Linked DNA regions of Homo sapiens: region 2 is linked to region 1. Evidence: promoter capture Hi-C in human tissues and cell types (Jung and others, 2019). All regions are on one chromosome and are shown on one strand. The core of a region is centred on a gene start or on the middle of the fragment in contact, and the rest is flanking DNA. Distances in the headings are between cores, read along the strand shown. Region 1 holds the start of SLC30A2 (solute carrier family 30 member 2). Region 2 holds the start of DHDDS (dehydrodolichyl diphosphate synthase subunit).

Region 1 (6,182 bases), core at 2,532-5,031:
GCTGGCTCCTTCCTGTCTCCCGCCTCCCATACTGTTCATTCCACCTTGACTTCAGGTGGTGCAGGTGCAGGGGCAGCAAGGTCACCTGCCCCATTGGGTGGTACTTCAGCTGAGTCTGGAGATGGTGGGAGGTGCCAGGGCCTCCATGGTCCAGTTGGGTTGGACAAGGGTGGGGCAGCTGCTGTCTCCACCTCAGTGAACACAATGGGGCCAGGCTGGTGCCCAGACTCACGCCAGGAAAGGCCAAGTCAGCCACCGGCAGTAGGGGATGAATTCATGACTGTGGCCCAGTAGCATCCAGGATCTCCATGAGCAAGAAGCCAAGGGCCTGGAGAGAGGCAAGGCTGAGCGAATCCGAGGCAGCGCATTCACCGGGGCTGATACACCAGAGACTTACAACTTTGAGGAGCATTGCAGAGCCTGTTCCCCCTTTTAGACATTCAGATCACAGTAGCAAATTAAGGGGTCCGAGTCGTCCCACCGTAAAGAAAGCGAATTAACTTTAGATGAGGACCATCAAGTTCATGGTGCTTGGAATGCTGCCTGACCCTAAGTCTTTCATTTTGTGTGTGTGGACTGAATTTCCCAACTTATTCATATGACATCCTCCGGAACTAGAGTTATGTGGAACTTGCTTTAGGACAGTGCTCAAAAACCCTCACAACCTCTGCCCATTTTCACTTCTGGGAGTTTGGTAGGTTTTCTAAGGCTAACTCAGTTCCTAACTTTGAATTTCAAAGAATCAGATTTTGCTCTCATTTCCAGTCCTTTCTCAAGTTCTGAAGCATTTTGTTTTAGTTTTTAAAACACGGTGTAATACACACACACACACCCTTAAAAGTGCACAAAACTCATCGTAGAGTTTAATAACCTATTGTAAAATGAAACCTTATGTTACTACCACTCAGGTGAAAAAAAAAAAAGAACATTGCCAGCCCTCAGAAGCCCTCCATGTGCCCCTCTACCACATCACAGCTCCTCTTTCTGATTGGGGCAGCGGAAAGAGGAGCGGTCAATTTTTTTGTTTTTTTGACAATCACATACTTGTTTTTCTTTATGGTTTGGTCTCCTAAAGTATCCTCCCATAGAAAACTGAAGGGATTTGAGTCCAGAAGGAGAAATTTGAGGCCAGAAAGAGAGAGGTTTTCATCACCTTGAAATCACAAGAATCAGTATTATAACGTGTGTATGTTCTGTTACTTCTCCAGGCTACTGATCATGTAAGCAGCAAGCATTTCAGCCCCGTATCTTGTCACTTATGGAAGAGAAGAGAGAGCAGTTGAGACTTTGGGTAATCAGTTAAAGATTAAATTCCAGGAAGATACCTGTTAATTGCAACTAAGGGGATCTTTCCTTTGCCATAGGAAGGGCTCTTCCTGTACTTGCAAACTAGAACCCTTAAGATGGTATGAAGGGTTCTTGATCAACATGCTTCCTTTAAAATCATGCTGCAAGAGAGGACAGCTGGCTTCAAGGGGGTTCTTTCAATGAATCTTGAATACAGCTCCATGGGCTGCTACATCAGAATTGCCAGGAAAGGTTTATTTTTCCCCAAGTCTTTAATTCTGAAACTTTTTTTTTTTTTTTTTTTAGACAGAGTTTCACTCTTGATTGCCCACGCTGGAGTGCAATGGCATGATCTCGGCTCACTGCAACCTCTACCTCCCGGGTTCAAGTGATTCTCCTGCCTCAGAATTCTGAGTAGCTGGGATTACAGGCGCCTGCCACCATGCCTGGCTAATTTTCTTATTTTTAGTAGAGACGAGGTTTTGCCATGTTGACCAGGCTGGTCTCGAACTCTTGACCTCAGGTGATCCGCCTGCCTCAGCCTCCCAAAGTGCTGGGATTATAGGCGTGAGCCGCCGCACCCAGCCAACATTTTTTAAATACTGAAAAGTAGAGGGAATAGTTATAGTGTACCCCATTTACCCATCACTCAGTTTCAACAGCTGGTGACATATTTATTTCTTCTATACCAGTACCGTACTCTCCCCACTGGGATTATTTTAAGGCAAAACCCAGATGACATTTTATCCCTAAATACTTTAGATAAAGGTGTTCTTTGAAAAAAATCATAACCTCAGGACCAGCCTGGCCAACATGGTGAAACCCTGTCTGTACTAAAAATACAAAAATTAGCTTGGCATGGTCGTGGGCACCTGTAATCCCAGCTACTCAGGAAGCTGAGGCAGGAGAATCACTTGAATCCGGGAAGCAGAGATTGCAGTGAGCTGAGATTGCAGTCGAGCCTGGGCGACAGAGACAGAAATGAAACTCTGTCTCAAAAACAAACAAACAAAAAAACCACTATACATAAAAATGAACAATGATGCCACAATAGCACCAGAGAATTTTATAAATACAGATTCCCAGGCCCTGCCCCAGACCTACTGAATCCTGGAAATATTCAGGCTCCACACCCAGAGATTCTGGTTCGGTTGGTCTGATGCAGGGACCTGTAACCTGCGTTGTAACACCTTCTCCAGGTAATGCTGAGCCTGCTGGTGCTCAGAGTAGACAGACCTGGAGAAAACCAGGGTGTCTGAGGTTTTCCAGAAGAAAACCAGAGTCCAGAGAAGCAGAGAGGCACTCAGTGAGGACCCAAGCAGAGCGGGTGCACCTCACATCCTCACTCCTGGCACCCCGTCTCCTACAAGATGAGAGACTGAAAGAGCCCCTTCCTGTCCCCAGTGGTGTGGGCAAGAGGCCTGCACCTCTGACTCTTGGCTCTGTGAAAGGCCATACCCACCAAGCCTATGGTCCTAGCGACAAAGGGTGCTGGGGAGACGAATTGACCAGACAGGGAGGTCTCCAGCAGCTTCTTTCTACACAGAGGGCACCTGTCAGAGGCCAGCGTGGGGGCCACAGGCTCCCCAATCCCCAAGAACCGCCAGGGAAGGAGGCTGCTTCAAGTGGGTGGGGCACCAAGCTGGCCAGGAAGGACAGGGCTTCTCCCAGCGGTACCAACACGGTGGCACCTCCGGCCTGCATCTCCCAGGCTTGCTTGTCAGGCTTCCTGGGGCTCCCAGGAGCCGCTGCGGGGGAGGGGAGAAGGGGTGGCAGCAGTGGCAGTGGTCGTCTCTGCTCCGATGGTGACTGCCGATGACACTGTTCTCTGTGCGGGTGGAGACAAAGCCGGCCACTCCAGATTCTCCTGCGCGCAGGAGAGGAGGAGCTGGCGCTGCTTCAGTGGCGAGGATGGGTCGATCAGTCCCAGCCGGTCCTAGGGAGAGACACTGCCCCAGCCTGAGGGCGGCGCAGCCCACCCCACCCCAGGACCCTCCTAGCAGGAGGACAGGAACGCAAGCCGACCTCGGGGGGTCTCCGGCCTGAGAGGGGAACATGATCAAGCCCAGGGCAGCCGCCAGTCGGAGGGGGCAGACGCGGCCCCAGTAGCCTCTGGAGACCCTCTTCCGAGGCAAGGAGCCACATTCCTGCCGTCGGGACCACCAAAGCGGATTTCTACAAACTAAAGTCGAGAACTTTTCGGCGGCGAGGCGGCGCACCCCGCGCGGGAGAGGGGGCGCAGGCGTCACCCCGTCCTCACTCAGCAACACCCGGCGCCGCGCCGGGCGAAGGCTGGCAAACTTCTCGCGGCCGGCAGGTGGGCTCCGCGGGCCCCATGGGCGCAGGCACAGGTGTGCGGGGCCACAGCCGGGCCTTTTGCAGCCGGCGACCGCCCCCCCTTCCCCGCGGGCTTTTGCACACGACGCGCCGACGGCAGCTTCACACGGGTTGGCGAGGGCCGGATAAAGCCGGCGGCCGCGGGGCGCAGCGGCTGACCCGAGACACGGGAGCGCTTGGCACGCGGAGCCAGAGCCGGAGCTGCAGCCGCAGCGGGAGCCGGGGGAGCTCAGGGGCCGCAGGAGCCGGGCCGGAGTGAGCGCACCTCGCGGGGCCCTCGGGGCAGGTGGGTGAGCGCCACCCGGAGTCCCGCGCGCAACTTTCAGGGCGCACTCGGCGGGGCGGCTGCGCGGCTGCCGGGACTCGGCGCGGGACTGCATGGAGGCCAAGGAGAAGCAGCATCTGTTGGACGCCAGGCCGGCAATCCGGTAAGGCGAGAGCCTGGGGACGGGCGGGAATTTTGGCGGCAGCCGACGCACCTCCGCATTTGCCATCCTAGCAGTGGTTGGTTTTGGCTGCGGCTTGAGCTGGGACCATGCAGGAGGGGTGGGGTGAGGTGAGGGAACGAAGATAATGGGCTGTGGCCCAAGGACCGTCTCTCCCTTGGGGCGCAGCCCAGATTCTGACCCCTGCCCGCGGGGGGCCTGGGGCCGGGGGATTGGCGGTTCCCATGCCTGGAGTCCCGCCCCGCCCAGCACTTTGCCCCAGGCAGCCCCGCCCCGGGGAGGCCCTGTGTCCCAAGTGCGCTGGAGGGGGCCTGCTGTTCTCCCAGAGCCTGCGCTCTGTTCCTTCCCCGCGCTCCACTGGACAGCACGCCCCTTGGCCGGTTCCCAGGGTCTTCACCTCCTCTGGCCTCTGAAGGGCCCCGGGCCCCAGGACTCCCATTCCCCTATCATCCCCGTCTGAATACAGGCTTCTCACCTCTGGTTTGTCGAGCTCGGAGCGTCCTTAGCTATTTTTCCCAGTGGACACAAGGCCTCACAGAGAAATGGGACTAGAGTCGGCCCTCCTTACCTCATCTCAGAGCTGAGCGTTCCCTCTCTTCCCCTCTGGCCAGGTCATACACGGGATCTCTGTGGCAGGAAGGGGCTGGCTGGATTCCTCTGCCCCGACCTGGCCTGGACTTGCAGGCCATTGAGCTGGCTGCCCAGAGCAACCATCACTGCCATGCTCAGAAGGGTCCTGACAGTCACTGTGACCCCAAGAAGGGGAAGGCCCAGCGCCAGCTGTATGTAGCCTCTGCCATCTGCCTGTTGTTCATGATCGGAGAAGTCGTTGGTAAGCACTTTTGGGCTAATTAAATGAAGTTGGTGCATGGATAGACTGGATGTTCCCAGCAATACTGACACTAAAAGCCCCAATTACTGAACACACACTACAGTAAGCCTTTATATACACATTATCTGATGCAGGTCTAACAACAACCTGTGTTCTCACATGGGTGACGTTATTCTCCTTACTTTACAGATGATGAAACTGAGGCATGTTCAGGTGAAGTAACTTGCCAAAGATCACGCACAACTCGTAGCTAAGGGAAGGCCTGAATTCCTAGAAGGGAAGAGCATTTACTGAGTATCTGCTATGTTTTCCAGTCCCTATTTGAACTTGATGTGCACATTCACCCTCTAAGTAGATATTGGTGGCCCATTTCACAGAGAGTGGAAGTTGAGGCTCAGAGAGAGTAGGTCACTTGTCACGGTGGTACAGCTCATGGGTAGAGAGATCTTGAGCCCAGAATGTCCTCTTCCAGAGCCTGTGGTCTCCCTGCTGCACACACAGTCTTGGGAGCCAGCTCTCTGGGGGAGCTGATAAGGACCCTCCACCCTGCAGGTGGGTACCTGGCACACAGCTTGGCTGTCATGACTGACGCAGCACACCTGCTCACTGACTTTGCCAGCATGCTCATCAGCCTCTTCTCCCTCTGGATGTCCTCCCGGCCAGCCACCAAGACCATGAACTTTGGCTGGCAGAGAGCTGGTGAGGATCGCGGTTTGGCTGGAGATGGGGTTGAGAGAGAGGGTGGGTTAGAACAGGGGTTCTTAGGTGGCTGTAATGGGTGGATCCCCCCTTCCTCCCCTGAGTGAGGCCAGGAGGGTGATCTGGATGGGGGAAGAGGATGTCAACCATGGCCTCTGTCCTCTGGGAAATCCTAGTCTGATGGGGGAGCCCTGGTCCCAGTCATCCAGGAGCTCTCAGTCTGCAGGGAAGCAAAGTTGACCTTCCTAAGAAGTGCAGTAGCCAAGCTTCAAGAACAAATGACAATGGCATTAACACTGCACATAACTCTGTGGATCAGCTCTGGGGGGAGGGGAAGGCCAGCAAAGGCTGCTGGAAGATATAGGCTTTAACCTCTCTTCCGTTCACCCTGGACTGCATCGTCACCTTCCTCTTTGTGGGAGATGGCCCAGCCTGTCTTCCCCAGAAGCCTCAGTTTACTAGCTGAACAAAAGGCACATACTTTAATAAGTCAGCTTCTTTACATGTACAACCAAAAAGGTGGACTCAGATGATGACTTATTAGTTCCTTCTAGCTCTTACATTCCTAGATATATGAGGGG
Region 2 (6,182 bases), core at 2,704-5,203, 390 kb before region 1:
GAATACACCACCACACCCAGCTAATTTTTTTATATTTTGTAGAGACGGGGGTCTCACCATGTTGGCCAGGCTGCTCTCGAACTCCTGGGATCAAGAGATCTACTCGATTTGGCCTCCCAAAGTGCTGGGATTACAGGTTTGAACCATCGTGTCTGGCCAGGAAAAATTTTGATGGGCATAGTCAAATGAAGATGGTACCTTCCACAGAAAAAAGGAACTCATAGGGCCAGGTGCAGTGGCTCACGTCTGTAATCCCAGCACTTTGGGAGGCCAAGGTGGGTGGATCACTTGAGGTCAGGAGTTCAAGACCAGCCTGGCCAACATGTTGAAACCCCATCTCTACTAAAAATGTGAAAATTAGGGCTGGGCACAGTGGCTCATGCCTGTAATCTCAGCACTTTGGGAGGCGAAGGCGGGCAGATCACGAGGTCAGGAATTCAAGACCAGGCTGGCCAGTATGGTGAAACCCCGTCTCTACTAAAAATACAAAAATTAGCCAGGTGTGGTGGCAGATGCCTGTAACACCAGCTACTTGGGAGGCTGAGGCAGGAGAACTGCTTGAACCCGGGAGGCAGAGGTTGCAGTGAGCCAAGATCACGCCACCACACTGCAGCCTGGGCGACAGAGCAAGACTCCATCTCGGAAAAAAGAAAAAAACAAAAACAAAAATTAGCCAGGTGTGGTGGTGGGAGCCTGTAATCCCAGCTACTTAGGAGGCTGAAGCAGGAGAATGGCTTGAACCCGGGAGGCAGAGGTTGCAGTGAGCCGAGATAGCACCACTGCACTCCAGCCTGGGTGACAGAGTAAGACTCTGTCTCAAAAAAAAAAAAAAAAAAAAAAAAAGGCACTAATTCCTGACCTCTAGCCAACTGCTGACACACAGGAACTGGGGCACAACATTGCTGGATCTGGTGATCTTGCAAGAAAACCAAACATCAGGATTTTTATTAAAATTTTGCTTTTCAGCCGGGCGCAGTGGCTCATGCCTGTAATCCCAGCACTTTGGGAGGCCGAGGCGGGTGGATCACGAGGTCAGGAGTTTAAGACCAGCCTGGCCAAAATGGTGAAACCCTGTCTCTACTAAAAATAAAGAAAAATTAGCCGGGCGTGGTGGCGAGCGCCTGTAATCCCAGCTACTCGGGAGGCTGAGGCAGGAGAATTGTTTGAACCGGGGAGGCAGAGGGTACAGTGAGCTGAGATTGTGCCACTGCACTCCAGCCTGGGCGACAGAGTGAGACTCTGTCTGAAAAAAAAAAATTGTTTTTCAAAGCAAACAAAAAAGACTTTTTTTGAGCCAAACAAAACTTACTTGGGGCCGGACGTGGTGGCTCAAGCCTGTAATCCCAGTACTTTAGGAGGCTGAGGTGGGCAGATCACTTGAGGCCAGGAGTTCGAGACCAGCCTGGCCAACATGGTGAAACCCCAACTCTACTAAAAAAAAAAAAAAAAAAAATTAGCCAGGCATGGTGGCCGGTGCCTATAATCCCAGCTACTTGGGGAGGCTGAGGTGGGAGAATCGCTTGAACCCAGGAGACAGAGGTTGCAGTAAGCCAAGACTGCACCACTGCACTCTAGCCTGGGCAACAGAGTAAGACTGCATCTCAAAAAAGAAACCACAAAAAACAAAACCCTTATTTGGCTTGGAGCAGCTTTGAGTTGTCTCCCATAACACAAATGGACTCCTTAGCCTATTTTTCCTCACCTGGGAGGGCTCTTCCCTGACTGCTTCCTCATCAACACTTCTCCTTTTTCTACTTCTGTCTCACATACAGCCTTTCCAGCCCCCAAAATCCATTCAAGTTATGCAGCTTGTTCTTCCAAACATACCACTGCAGTGGTTCCCCAAGGAGATACTTCCCATTTCCTGGACTGCTTGAGATCACTTGGCATTTGTTTGTGAGCATGTGTGGGGCTTGTATAAAGGTTACTGACTCATAAATTCATTACTACCTGCTGCTTGACAGCCTGTGGTTGAAAAACAAAACCAAGCTGACTGGCCCCAATCTCAAACCTGTCTTAGGCAGATATAATATTGCTGTGATTCCTAGAGAAAAAGCTGAGGGAAGATTTGGGGAAGATAGGAGATAATAGTCTTCAAATGTCTGAAAGACAATCCTAATAATAATTAAGAACTGCTAGACATTATGCTAACTGCTTTATATTAATGTCTCATAAATTCTCATGATAATTCTACAGTTGTTAAAGTCACATGATTACTAAATGATAGAACTGGACTTTCAGGCCAGGTGCAGTGGCTCAGTCCTATAATCCCAGCACTTTGGGAGGCTGAGATAGGTGGATCACCTGAGGTCAGGAGTTCGAGACCAGCCTGGCCAATATGAGAATCCCATCTCTACTAAAAATATAAAAATTAGCCATGTGTGGTAGCATATGCCTGTAACCCCAGCTACTTGGGAGGCTAAGGCAAGAGAATTGCTTGAACTTGGCAGATGAAGGTTGCAGTAAGCCAAGATTGCGCCATTGCACTCCAGCCTGGGCGACAGAGCGAGACTCCATCTCAAAATAAAAAAAAGAACAGGAATTTCACCCATGTTTGTCTGCGTCTAGAGCCCAAACTCTTTTTTTTTTTTTTTTTTTGAGACAGAGTCTTGTTCTGAACTCTTTTTTTTGAGACAGTCCCGTTCTGTCACCCAGGCTGGAGTGTGGTGGCACAATCATGACTCACTGCAGCTTTGACCTGGGCTCAAGAAATTCTCCCACTTCAGCCTTCCGAGTAGCTGGGACTACAGGTGCACACCACCAAGCCCTGCTATTTTTTTAATTTTTTGGAGAATCGGGGTTTTGCCATGTTGCCCAGGCTGGTCTCAACTCCTGAGCTCAAACAATCTGCCCACCTCAGCCTCCCAAATTGCTGGGATTACAGGCGTGAGTGACCGGGCCCAGCTCTACTGACAGATCAAAGAATATATCAAAGATTAACCTATTTAAATCAAGAAGACAGTACATGGAACAATGGATCAATGTTCCAGGGAAACAAATTTCAGTTCTCTATAAAGAATACTTAGCAGTCTAGGCTGCCCAGTGACATTAAGAGGCCTGGGCTTCCAGAAAATATCAGAGTTAGGACAAAAGTCTACCAGAAATGTAGACCTGGAAGTTACCATTCTAAGACTCTTTGGTTTCCTTGCTAAATTCCACTTAACATCATGAATTGCACTTAACATCATCAACTTTAATAACAGGTTTTTATATAAGATTATCCAACTGACCAGAAGGCCAACCGGTGCTCTGGGCCATTGCTCACCTTTATGATGTTGGCACAGAACCGCTCCCAAAGTGACAGCTCTCCTTCCTTGATCCATGACATAGTTCTTTTCCAGTCAGAAGATCACTCCAGAACAAGCAAACACCAGCCAGGTAATCTTGGATAAACAAGAAAGAAAATAAGAAGTCACCAAGGTTTGCGAAGAGCTATAACTGACTTCTGGGGAATCAGATGGACTATGGAGAGCAGCCAGCATTAGAATCCAAAGACACTGGTCTAAGCCTATAATCTTTTACCACCCAGAGTTTTATAACGCAATGTGACCTCTGGAGGCAAAAGCCTTTCCTCGGTTCTCCTGGCTTTGCAGACTTCTTCCCATTCCCATTTCCTCCGTATCTGCACTGACTTCTTCTGAACATCTAAGTCGGTTTCCTGCCACATCATGGTGCCCACATCTTGATCATTCCCCGTTTCTTCCTTCTCCATCTTCCCCTAAGCTGTTTCCAACTCTGTGCTCCCAGTTACTAACTCCTTCAGTTATCGCACGCCTAGTACTTCACGCCTCAGTGGTCTCCTGATTATTCCCTCAGTCGTCCCTTTGCTTCTCCCGCAGCTGCTCCCCGCCCAGTCACCCTCTTCTCCTCTAGTTCACCCCTTCAGTTCAGTGGCACCTGATTAGCTCCGCTGGGCGCGTCCCCACGGCTTCAGTGGGCCGGCACTTCCTCATGACGTGGCGCTGGCAGAACACGTCATCTTTGGGCGCTGCGACACGCCCCTTCCGTCACCCAAACTGAGGGGACCCTGCCCTGCGCCTGCGCCTGCGAGCTAGTGGGAGGGCGGTTCTCAGTCCCGCGGGGTGTGGAAGCCGGCGCGGGTGAGAGCCAGGCTCACGTGACCGAGCGGGGCGGGAGGCTGGGCTCCAGGCCACGTGCTGGGAGACCAGCTGGGGAAGACAGGGTTGAGCCCAGCGTTGGGAGCGGAGGCGTCTGGAAAACGCGCCAGGGAAATGAGCCAGGGGCAAGAATCGAGGCGCTTCTCGGCCGTCGAAGGCAGCTTAGGACTGCTGAGAGACTGGGTAAGGCAGCGTCCTTACCTTGGAATGCCGCAGAACCGGGCTTCATTAGAGCACTGGTGCATACTCTTAAAAATTATCTCGTTACCGTTTCGTATTTTATTTAGTGGATTTAATCGTCTGGGAAGGAGTTTCTAGCCGCAGCCAATCTTACAGACGCGCAGAATATTAATCTATTTTGTGCCGACTTAAGGCACGCATATTTTAGGATTTGTGGATTCCCAAGACCTATCCCAACGAACTCAAGAGAAGGGGTAAGGCCAGAAAGATTTCTGCCATAAGAATGACTTCTAGGCCAGGCGCGGTGGCTCACGCCTGTAATCCCAGCACTTTGGGAGGCCGAGGCGAACGGATCACCTGAGGTCAGGAGTTTGAGACCAGCCTGACCAACATCGTGAAACCCCGTCTGTACTAAAAATACAGAAAATGAGCCGGGCGTGGTGGCGGGCGCCTGTTATCCCAGTTACTCGGGAGGGTGAGGCAAGAGAATCGCTTGAACCCGGGAGGCGGAGGTTGCGGTGAGCCAAGATCAGGCCACTGCACTCCAGCCTGGGCAACAGGAGCGAAACTCTGTCTGAAAAAAGAAAAAAAAAAAAAGCATGACTTCTAAAATAACAGAAAGGTGCTCGCTTTGGCAGTACATAAATGAAAATAACAGAAATTAACCCTGGTAGAAAAGTTAAGGGCATTAGCTCTACTGAACCTTTACGAAAAAAAGGGTTGCAAGAATTCTAGGCTCACAAAACAAATTTGTAGTTCAATTTTCTCAAAATTGAAAGAGGAGGAAAAAATTCTTTACAGATTCTTATACAACCAGTATTATTTTTATTTATTTATTTATTTATTTATTTATTTAGAGACGGAGTCTGGCTATGTCGCCCAGGCTGGAGTGCAGTGGCGCGATCTCGGCTCACTGCAGCCTCCGCCTCCCGGGTTCAAGCGTTTCTCCTGCTTCATCCTCCTGAGTAGCTGGGACTACAGGCGCGTGCCACCAAGCCTGGCTAATTTTTGTATTTTTAGTAGAGACAGGGTTTCACCATTTTGGCCAGGATGGTTTTGATCTCTTGACCTCGTTATCTGCCTGCCTAGACCTTCCAAAGTGCTGGAATTACAGGCGTGAGCCACCGCGCCCGGCCACAACCAGTATTTCTTGCAAAGCATAATACAACTTTATGTAGTATTATGTTTTGAGTGGAATAAAAATTCACAATTGTCAAAGAACCTTTTTGTCGCATTTCATTTTACAATATTATTAAAGAAATGAGGCAAGGAAGAGATGTTTTATTGGCACTTTCTAATTGATTATGTCTTCCACTCTTTCTAATGAAAGGGGTTATTTTAACACAGCAACATGATGAAAGAAAGCCCTAGAGATGAGTAGAAATGAATAGTGTTGAGCTTTTCCATCCTTCCTGCTTTGCAGCCTGGGGAGTAAATTTCAGTCCAAGTTACTTCATTTTGCAGCAAGACAATTTAATGAAGTCCACTAGTAGTTTGCTGCTTCATGAGGTTCTACTGTCAGCTTTGACTTTTGGTACAATTAAGGAGCCACAAAGTCCCTGGAGTAGATTATGAAACTTCTTACCCTTACTCTTATAATGTCAGGCTTGAGGATTTAAACCAGTTTCCCTGTTTCCTTGCACGGTGTTAATATACTTGGTTTGCCTCCAATCAAGTTTTTTTTTTTTCCTTTTTAAAATCCTCCTTCCCTTAGTGGGAATAGATGTTTAAAATTCAGTGTTCTTGCTTGATGACTTGTGATGTATATAAAAAAACTCGATGTTCATTAAAAAGCTAGCAAACTTTGGCTCAAAGAAAATGTTGCATTTATAGCTAGTCAGTGAATCTCCTCTGGCCTCAATTTCCCCAGTTCCACAACACATT

What was found. The method cuts DNA at HindIII sites, captures the fragments that hold promoters and counts their contacts. A contact is called where the count stands out against the background at its distance.
Region 2: the fragment with the promoter of DHDDS here is called in contact with the fragment with the promoter of SLC30A2 in region 1 in 1 of the 25 tissues and cell types used here (mesenchymal stem cells).

What each region holds. Positions count from the first base shown.
Region 1 is chr1:26,043,717-26,049,898 of GRCh38, reverse strand. SLC30A2 (solute carrier family 30 member 2) reads left to right here and starts at 3,781. Exons shown (of 8, transcript NM_001004434.3): 1 at 3,781-4,052; 2 at 4,682-4,902; 3 at 5,455-5,601. The coding sequence starts at 4,003. It overlaps LOC105376910 (a long non-coding RNA gene), which reads right to left and starts at 1,641. Exons shown (of 2, transcript XR_001737948.2): 1 at 1-1,641. RefSeq lists an enhancer at 4,182-4,750. The HindIII fragment of the contact is 12,838 bases long and covers 1-6,182 here.
Region 2 is chr1:26,430,092-26,436,273 of GRCh38, reverse strand. DHDDS (dehydrodolichyl diphosphate synthase subunit) reads right to left here and starts at 3,953. Exons shown (of 9, transcript NM_205861.3): 1 at 3,898-3,953; 2 at 3,266-3,383. The coding sequence starts at 3,328. It overlaps LOC124903883 (a long non-coding RNA gene), which reads left to right and starts at 4,037. Exons shown (of 2, transcript XR_007065557.1): 1 at 4,037-4,301; 2 at 5,156-5,519. RefSeq lists enhancers at 3,634-4,123, 3,661-4,197, 4,224-4,283, 4,354-4,413, 4,198-4,734 and 1 more. The HindIII fragment of the contact is 9,291 bases long and covers 1-6,182 here.